Regions from separate parts of the Homo sapiens genome. Here region 2 is linked to region 1. Evidence: promoter capture Hi-C in human tissues and cell types (Jung and others, 2019). All regions are on one chromosome and are shown on one strand. The core of a region is centred on a gene start or on the middle of the fragment in contact, and the rest is flanking DNA. Distances in the headings are between cores, read along the strand shown. Region 1 holds the start of GNG10 (G protein subunit gamma 10). Region 2 overlaps PTGR1 (prostaglandin reductase 1).

Region 1 (3,979 bases), core at 892-3,391:
CAAGTCTTGTTTCCTAATTTCTGTTTTGGCATTAGTTCTGGCCCACTCTCTGCTACAGAACCCTTTGTCCTCTTTTCTTTGCATTTCATAACCACCATGAAGTACCACTGATTTTGTCTTCTAAATTTGTTCCCCCTCATTCCTACTCTAACAGTCCTACCCAGGGCCTCATTCCAGCTACTCCCCCACCATCAGCCATTTATCTTCTCAACTTCAGTTCATTTTGCACATTCATCTCAGATTAATATTCCCAAAATGCCTTACCCTGTGGCTATCCCACTGTTTACCATAAACTTTTGTGTGTATGTGAGGTTTTCTATGACTTCTGGCCCTAGCAACTTTGTATCTGCTATTAGTCACTAGAGCTTCCTCTATTTTTAAATTTATTCACTCTACATGTGTGCATCGCCTCCAGCTGTCCTCCATACTGGACTGTTCTTCCTTCTGAGCCATCTGCAAGACACGTATCTCCAAAGTCCAGCTCTCACGATCTATGATGAGCCTTTCCTAATCCAGTATGTATATCTTTGCACTGAGTTCTTTGCCATATCTTTTAAATATGAAATCATTCTATTTTGTCCTATTCATCAGTCTCAGAATTGATTGTTGAATGTTCCCAACATGTACTTTCATCTCTTTACTAAGATATATATTAATTTCTTTGTGGTGAGGAAATTGGCCACTAGAGAGGGCTTTCAAATGTGCAAGTCTCCCTTTGGCCCAGGCACAGCTAATCTGAGCACGTCAATGCCACACATCCTTGCCTTCAAAGAGTAATTGGGCCAGGGGTGGGCCCATGACTTAATACCAGCCAGTGAGGTTCATTATGGGGATTTTTGCTGGAACGATTAGAAAGAAAAGAGGTACTATTTTTCCTGGGTTTGCTAGATGGGGACAGTGAAAGTGTGGTGCCTTCCTTCATACCACTAGAGAAGTCCATCTACCACCAAGGAAAATGAGGCTAATCTCAGGAAAAGCAGAATCAAAACAAGGAGGATGAGAGCCCCAAAATTATTATTTGGGTAATTGAATTCACTAGTTTAAAGTCCCTGGACTTTTCAGTTACACAAGCCAATATATTACCTTTTGCAATATTCAGTTTAAGTGAGTTCTGACAAATACAATGGTGTACAAGAATAATGACGTATTAATGATACATGGAAAAAAGCAACACAAAAATTTTAAATATAGTAACGATCCCAGTTTTGTAAAACACTTATTAAAAAATGCAGTAGGCCTATAATGCCAGCACTTTGGGAGGCTGAGGTGGGAGGATCACCTGAGCCCAGGAGTTCAACACCAGCCTGGCCAACATCGTGAAACCCCGTCTCTACTAAAAATACAAAAATTAGCCGGGCGTGGTGGTGTGTGTCTGTAGTCCCAGCTACTCAGGAGGCTGAGGCAGGAGGATCACCTGAGCCCACGAGGTGGAGGCTACAAGGAGCTGTGATCACGCCACTGCACTCCACCCCGGGTGACAGAGCAAGACCCTGTCTCAAAAAAAAAAAAAAAAAAAAAAAAAGCAGCAGAATAGAAACAATGATGACAGTTAAATGGTGAGATGAGAGTGAGAAACGCTGAATTTAATTTTATTCTGTATGTTTCACAAAGATGTCAGGGTCTGGGATTTTATCCAATTTACCATACTCCACCAAATCAACTGGTAGGATCTCCGTGAAACAGTAACAGGGTCATTTAGAAACCTGTTGCTGCCTCATGAAAATCCTATGAACTCTCCTTGGTTCCCCGGTGATACTGTCTGGCAAGGCCCCTTATCTCTCCAACTCATGTCACACCTTGGCTCCAGTTCTCATTTCTCAGGGGTGCGTGTTTGCTGCCGCCCACTCCATCCTCGCGTCCCACGCCCTCGCGATTCCTGCTCATCCTAGGGGCGCCAGCTTCGCTGGAGGACGCCGCGCTCTGCGGGTCCCCGCCTCGGTTCCAGGCCCAGCTGCAGGTGCCACCCAGGTTTCAGGCGCTGAGGAGCGGAGAGCACTGCCAGCTCGCTGGGGTCCCCGCTGTCTCTGGCAAGCGGCTCCGCGCCGGGTGGGCTGGGGCGGCGGGGCGGGCGCAGCTGCTTCCCCGCCCCGGGGCGGCACCCGCGCTCGGGGCTGGCGGCTCCTCCCCGCCCGGCCGGGCCCAGCAGCCCCTAGGAGCCCAGCGCCGCCGCCATGTCCTCCGGGGCTAGCGCGAGCGCCCTGCAGCGCTTGGTAGAGCAGCTCAAGTTGGAGGCTGGCGTGGAGAGGATCAAGGTGCGGGCCCCGGGTACCCACGCTCCGGTCCTTCCGCCCGCGGGGCGTGAGAAGAGGAGGCCGGCGGCCCGGACCGGGCGCCAGCGGGGGACTCGGTGGCGGCGGCGAGGCCTCGGCGGGGCGCGGGGGCGGTGGGGTCCGCGGTGAGGGAGGGCGCGGGGCAAGCCGGGGGCCCGGGCCTGACGGGAGGAAGCCGCGCCTGGGGGGCCCCGCGGTCGTGGTCGGTCCCGGTCCCTGGGGGTGCGCCCACTCCAGAAGGCGGCCGTGGTCAGTTCCTCGGAGGGCGCAAGGGATGCCGGCGACGCGCGGGCCGGGAGGGTGGACCCAGGGCTGGGGAGGCCACCGCAGGGCGGCGAATTGGTGATGGATTGGTAGGATGAGAGCGAGAGGGAGGAGAGCCAGGATGCTCGGGTTTCTGTCGTCGTGACAGGGTGGACGGCGCTGCCACCCGCCGAGGTAGAGAGGAGGGGGAACAGGTTTGGGGAAATGATGAGTTCGGCTGCGGACCTGGGGACTCCGGGGAGTCATCCGGGAGGTATTTGTCCTCATGGCCTGAAGCTCAGCGCCCAGGGCTGAAAGAGGTCATTCAAGTGCATTGGGGCGAAAAAGCCTCTTCTATGAAGAGCAGAGCTCAGAGCCTGGGACCCGGGGACCAGCCACACCGATGGCCGGTGGCCGAGAGAAGAGGAAATAAGAGACAGCAAGGTTTCCGAGCAAGGCCTAGAGAAGAGGAAATAAGAGACAGCAAGGTTTCCGAGCAAGGAAGTAGGGATTTCCAAAAACTGGGGGCTCAGTCAACATGTCCAGCGTTTAGTCAGTTGGCTAAAAGGCGTCTGTTGTAGAGCTGTGTTTAGCTACGAGTGCAGCATTATTTGCAGAAGATCTGTAAGAAGGAACACAACCAGGATAGTCCCTGTGCCTCAGTTTCTCCTTTGCTGTGTGCCTGGCACTGCTACAGGGAATAGGGTGGTTCTGGAGGGGAAGGTAAACAGCAACTTAACGGATACATAGCATCGCTTCATGTACTAAGTGGAGTGAAGATAATAAACAGGGTAAAGGGAGAGAGGGCTGTGGAATGCAGAGGTCTGGTGGCTTATGTGTTAGTAAAAGCAGAATCTGGACTGTCATAGGGTAGGCAGACGTTTTTTCTTTTTAAAGAAACCTAGTTTTAAAGAGGAAATAACGTGTTTTTTTAACTTAGGAAATGAAAAGCCATGTTTTAGGGTTGAGAGGAAGTAACAAATTATATTTTTAGGTTCCAGGGAAGAAACAAATGGAAGCCAATTGCTGGTAGAGGAGACAGGGCTACGGGGGGGTGGGGGATTGGTGGCACAGCTTCTGAGACAGGAAGAAAGAAGGTAAGGGTGTGTGTAAAGATAAGTTTCTAGATATGGGCTAAACTTGTATGGTGACACTTTTCTTTGTGAAATAGGAGGCCAGGTTTTCTTCTAAGGCAGAGGAAAGGGGACTAAGGGAGTGGCCCCTGAGCAGGCACGCAGATGCGCTGTGACTGAAGACCCAGCTGCTGTGACAAGGGAGACTGCTGGTCATATTTGTGATTTTTTTTTTTTCCTGCAGCAATCTTTACCATCCTGGAATGTGAGTGCTGAAGGTGAACGGTAGTTGAAAGAGGAGTAAGTTAGCAGGGGAGGTATGCCAGAAAGGTGGAGGTGGGGCCGGAGGGCAAGGCGTGTGAAGGTCTGGCCAGAAAGAGGCTGAGCCTAGAT
Region 2 (3,979 bases), core at 839-3,338, 82 kb before region 1:
AGTTTGACAGCTCCTCAAAATGTTAAACATGAAATTATCATATGACCCAGCAATTCTACTCATAGGTATATACTTAAAAGAAATGAAAAATCCACACAAAAACCTCTGCATGAATGTTCATAGTAACATTATACTTCATAGCCAGAAAGTATAAGCTAATACCCATCAGGCTGGGTGTGGTGGCTCACGCCTGTAATCCTAGCACTTTGGGAGGCCGAGTTGGGAGGTTTGCTTGAGCCCAGGAGTTCCAGACCAGCCTGGGCAACATGGCGAAACCCCATCTCTACTAAAAATATAAAAATTAGTTGCGTGTGGTGGCACATCCCTATAGTCCCAGCTACTTGGGAGGCTGAGGTGGAAGGATTGCTTGAGCGAGGGAGGTCGAGGCTGCAGTGAGCCACGATCACACCACTGCACTCCAGCCTAGGTGACAGAGTGAGATCCTGTCTCAAAAAACAAAAAAAAGGAATAAAGCACTGATAAATTCTATGATATGGATGAAACTTGAAAACATTTTGCTAAGTGAAAGATGCCAGTCATAAGAGACCACTTTTAGTGGGGAGGAGGGTGGTAATGGAGAGTGACTGCTAATGAGTAGCGTTTTTTGGGGGGGGTGATGAAAATATTCTTAAACTGGTTGTACAATTTTGCCAATATAGTAAAAAACATTGACTTCTACACGTTAAATGAGTGAATTACATGGTACATGAATGATATCTCAATAAAGCTGTTTTTTAAAAAAGGCATATATACTTTCTTCATGTACCCCAAAATGGAAACTCTAGGAATATATTCCCTTGTATCAGCGGTCCTCAACCTTTTTGGCACCAGGGAGCAGTTTCATTGGAAGACAATTTTTCCATCGATTGTTGGGGGGATGGTTTCAAGGATGATTCAAGTACATTGTGTTTATTGTGCACTTTATTTCTATTATTATTGCAATGTAATATACAATGAAATAATTATACAACTCACCATAACCATAGAATCAGTGGGTGAGTTTTCCTGCAACTAGACGGTCCCATCTGGGGGTGATGGGAGACAGTGACAGATCATTAGGCATCAGGCATCATCAGGCACCTGAGTAGTGCGATCTCCATAAGGAACGCACAACCTAGATCCCTCACATGCATAGTTCACAACAGGGTTTACACTTCTATGGGAATCTAATGCTGCCACTGTTCTGAGAAGAGGCGGAGCTCAGGCAGTAATGGGAGCAATGGGGAAGGGCTGTAAATACAGATGAAGCTTTGCTTGCTCACCTGCCCCTCACCTCCTGCTGTGCATCCCAGTTCCTGATAGGCTATGGACCACTAACCATCCATGGCCCAGGGGTAGGAGACTCCTGCTTTATATAGTACTTCCATAATAAATTAGATATTAAGTCCAGTTTGTACTTACATTATCAAAATAACAATCATAACCATCAGGAGACGCTTTCTTCAAGGTTTCTTCCAAAGACTCTACCGTCTTGTAGTTAAAGACGACATCAAATCCAAGCTTTTGAAGGTAGGCAACCTTTTCATCAGACCCTACTGCTCCAACAACTTTGCAGCCCTAAGTAGAAAAAAAAAAAAAAAGGAAACCATGAATAAGTCACAAGCATGGACCAACACTACTTTCCTGGTCTCGTATGCCTAGGTTCCCTAGGAACACTCTCTTAGGTGCTGAGCCACATATAAAAGGAATACCATAATGGGCCAACAGATCCCATAGGTGAAATCAGTCCCCGGACCATCCTACAACTCAGCTTCAGCTTGCTTCTGACCACCCAGCAGGTCCCTTCTGCATTTATTTGGTTCATAGTTCCACCAGCTGGTTTCACAACCGATCCATTTGACTTCCTTGGTTCTTTGTTTCTGGGCTTCTCTTCCTTGCAATGCAGTGTATGCCATCTCTTGGTACAGTCATTCTTCAGACTATTATTTTGTCTCAGCTCTGTGACTCCCACATCACAGACAGCCCTCCTAGTAACTGCCCCCTTATCCTTTTTTGATTTTTTAAATGTTTATATTTTTTTGAGACATGGTCTCACTCTGTTGCCCAGGCTGGAGTGCAGTAGCACGAACATGGCTCACTGCAACCTTGACCTCTTAAGCTCGTGATCCTCCCACCTCAGCCTCCTAAGTAGCTGGGACCACAGGTGCATACCACTACATCTGGCCTTATATTTTTTAAATTTTCACAGAGACAGGGTCTCACTATATTGCCCAGGCTGATCTCGAACTCCTAGGCTCAAGTGATCCTTCTGCCTTGGCCTCCTAAAGTGCCCAGGCTGATCTTGAACTCCTGGGCTCAAGTGATCCTCCTGCCTCAGCCTTCTAAAGTGCTCGGATTACAGGCATGAGCCACTGCACCAGGCCCCCTTTATCCTTTGATTTAGTCCAAAGCACCAGACTACACGCTTCCTAATCACAGAGGAGCTAGGAAGCATTCTGAAAAGCACTTTCAGGATGACACTACAGATTATAGTGGTTCATAGAAACTAGCTTTTCAGAAAGCTCCCTTATACTCTAAATGTATTATGAAGACCAGAATATGTGCCACTGTGCATTTTCAATCGAGGAAAAACCCCAGTTGGATTTACATGAATCTCTGTACAAATAGTGACGGCCACAGGCTTTTTCCATTCCTTCATGATTCCAGAAAAAACTATTGCAAGAGAGCCCTCCTTGGTCCTTTTTCCTTCTAAGACTATAGACTATCATAGGATGATCTCTTTCACTCTTATGACCTCCTTTATGCAGATTATTAATTAATCTATTAATTCTATCTATTAATGTTAGCCCATTTTTTTTCTCCTGAGTTCCAAATCAGTATTTCCAACAACCTATAGATGTCCTCACACTTGGATGTCCTGTAGGTCCCTCATAAATAGTGTGTTCAAAAGGGAATATACTTTTTTCCTTGCTTCTTACTTATTTCTTTTCTATCCACTATTATAAGAGAATGATACCACTCAGTTATCCAAACCTGAAACATGGCTCAAAGGAGAAGCTTTCCTTTGTCTTATGATCCATGTCCAATCATCTGGTTTTCTTCCTCTTTTTTAACCAAACAGCCTTAAAATCCGACTCTGGGCCAGGCGCGGTGGCTCACGCCTGTAATCCCAGCACTTTGGGGGGCTGAGGTGGGTGGATCACCGGAGGTCGGGAGTTCGAGACCAGCCTGACCAACACGGAGAAACCCCATCTCTACTAAAAATACAAAATTAGCCAGGCGTGGTGGCACATGCCTGTAATCCTAGCTACTCGGGAAGCTGAGGCAGGAGAATAGCTTGAACCTGGGAGGCAGAGGTTGCGGTGAGCTGAGATCGCACCATTGCACTCCAGCCTGGACAACAAGAGCGAAACTCCATCTCAAAAAAAAAAAAAAAAGCTGACTCTGACTTCCAATCTTTGTCGATGCATCAAAATTTTCATTTGAATTATTGTAAGAGCCTCCTAAGTGGACTTCTTGTTTCTAGCATAGCGTCCCTAGGAACTATTCTCCTACCAAGGCCTAAGTGATGTTTCTAAAAAGCAGAACCAATCATGTTACTTCTTTAAGGATTGAGTATAAATTCCTTAGCATGGCAGTCTCCAGTGGAATTTCTACAGGGAAGAGAAGATATTTTAAAAGATGTGTTCATACTGTTTCAAGTTTCTCAGTGAAATTCAAAAGGATACTGCATTAGTCAACAAGTGCAGGTTATGGGGAAAGGAAGCAATCCTAGAATATGAGGAGCCTCAGCTATGAAAAACTTAATTGCTAATCTAGAAACTGATGCTGCTGCAAGTCATGTAATTCAATTGGAGGACCAGATTAAGAAAGTACAGAATTCAGAGGAAAAAGTACAAAAGATGTAATTATGAGAGCAAAGAGAGCATACAAGAATAGTCCTAAGGGAAACAGAATGAACATATACCATTCCTCATGAAGAAAACAGAATAGATGAAAAAAATAATTAAATAGAAGAAGAAAACTGTTCTTCATCTGA

What was found. The method cuts DNA at HindIII sites, captures the fragments that hold promoters and counts their contacts. A contact is called where the count stands out against the background at its distance.
Region 2: a contact is called between a fragment that was not itself captured here and the fragment with the promoter of GNG10 in region 1, in 2 of the 25 tissues and cell types used here (heart left ventricle and pancreas).

What each region holds. Positions count from the first base shown.
Region 1 is chr9:111,659,464-111,663,442 of GRCh38, forward strand. It overlaps GNG10 (G protein subunit gamma 10), which reads left to right and starts at 2,142. Exons shown (of 3, transcript NM_001017998.4): 1 at 2,142-2,252. The coding sequence starts at 2,172. The region is part of intron 1 of DNAJC25-GNG10 (DNAJC25-GNG10 readthrough); the gene reads left to right. RefSeq lists enhancers at 1,723-1,782, 2,853-2,952, 3,153-3,202 and silencers at 1,963-2,412, 2,443-2,562. The HindIII fragment of the contact is 18,619 bases long and covers 1-3,979 here.
Region 2 is chr9:111,577,395-111,581,373 of GRCh38, forward strand. PTGR1 (prostaglandin reductase 1) reads right to left here. Exons shown (of 10, transcript NM_001146108.2): 7 at 1,402-1,557. It also overlaps a transcript of ZNF483 not described here. Among named protein-coding and RNA genes, the nearest start is that of PTGR1, 20 kb to the right of the region's middle. The HindIII fragment of the contact is 3,979 bases long and covers 100-3,979 here.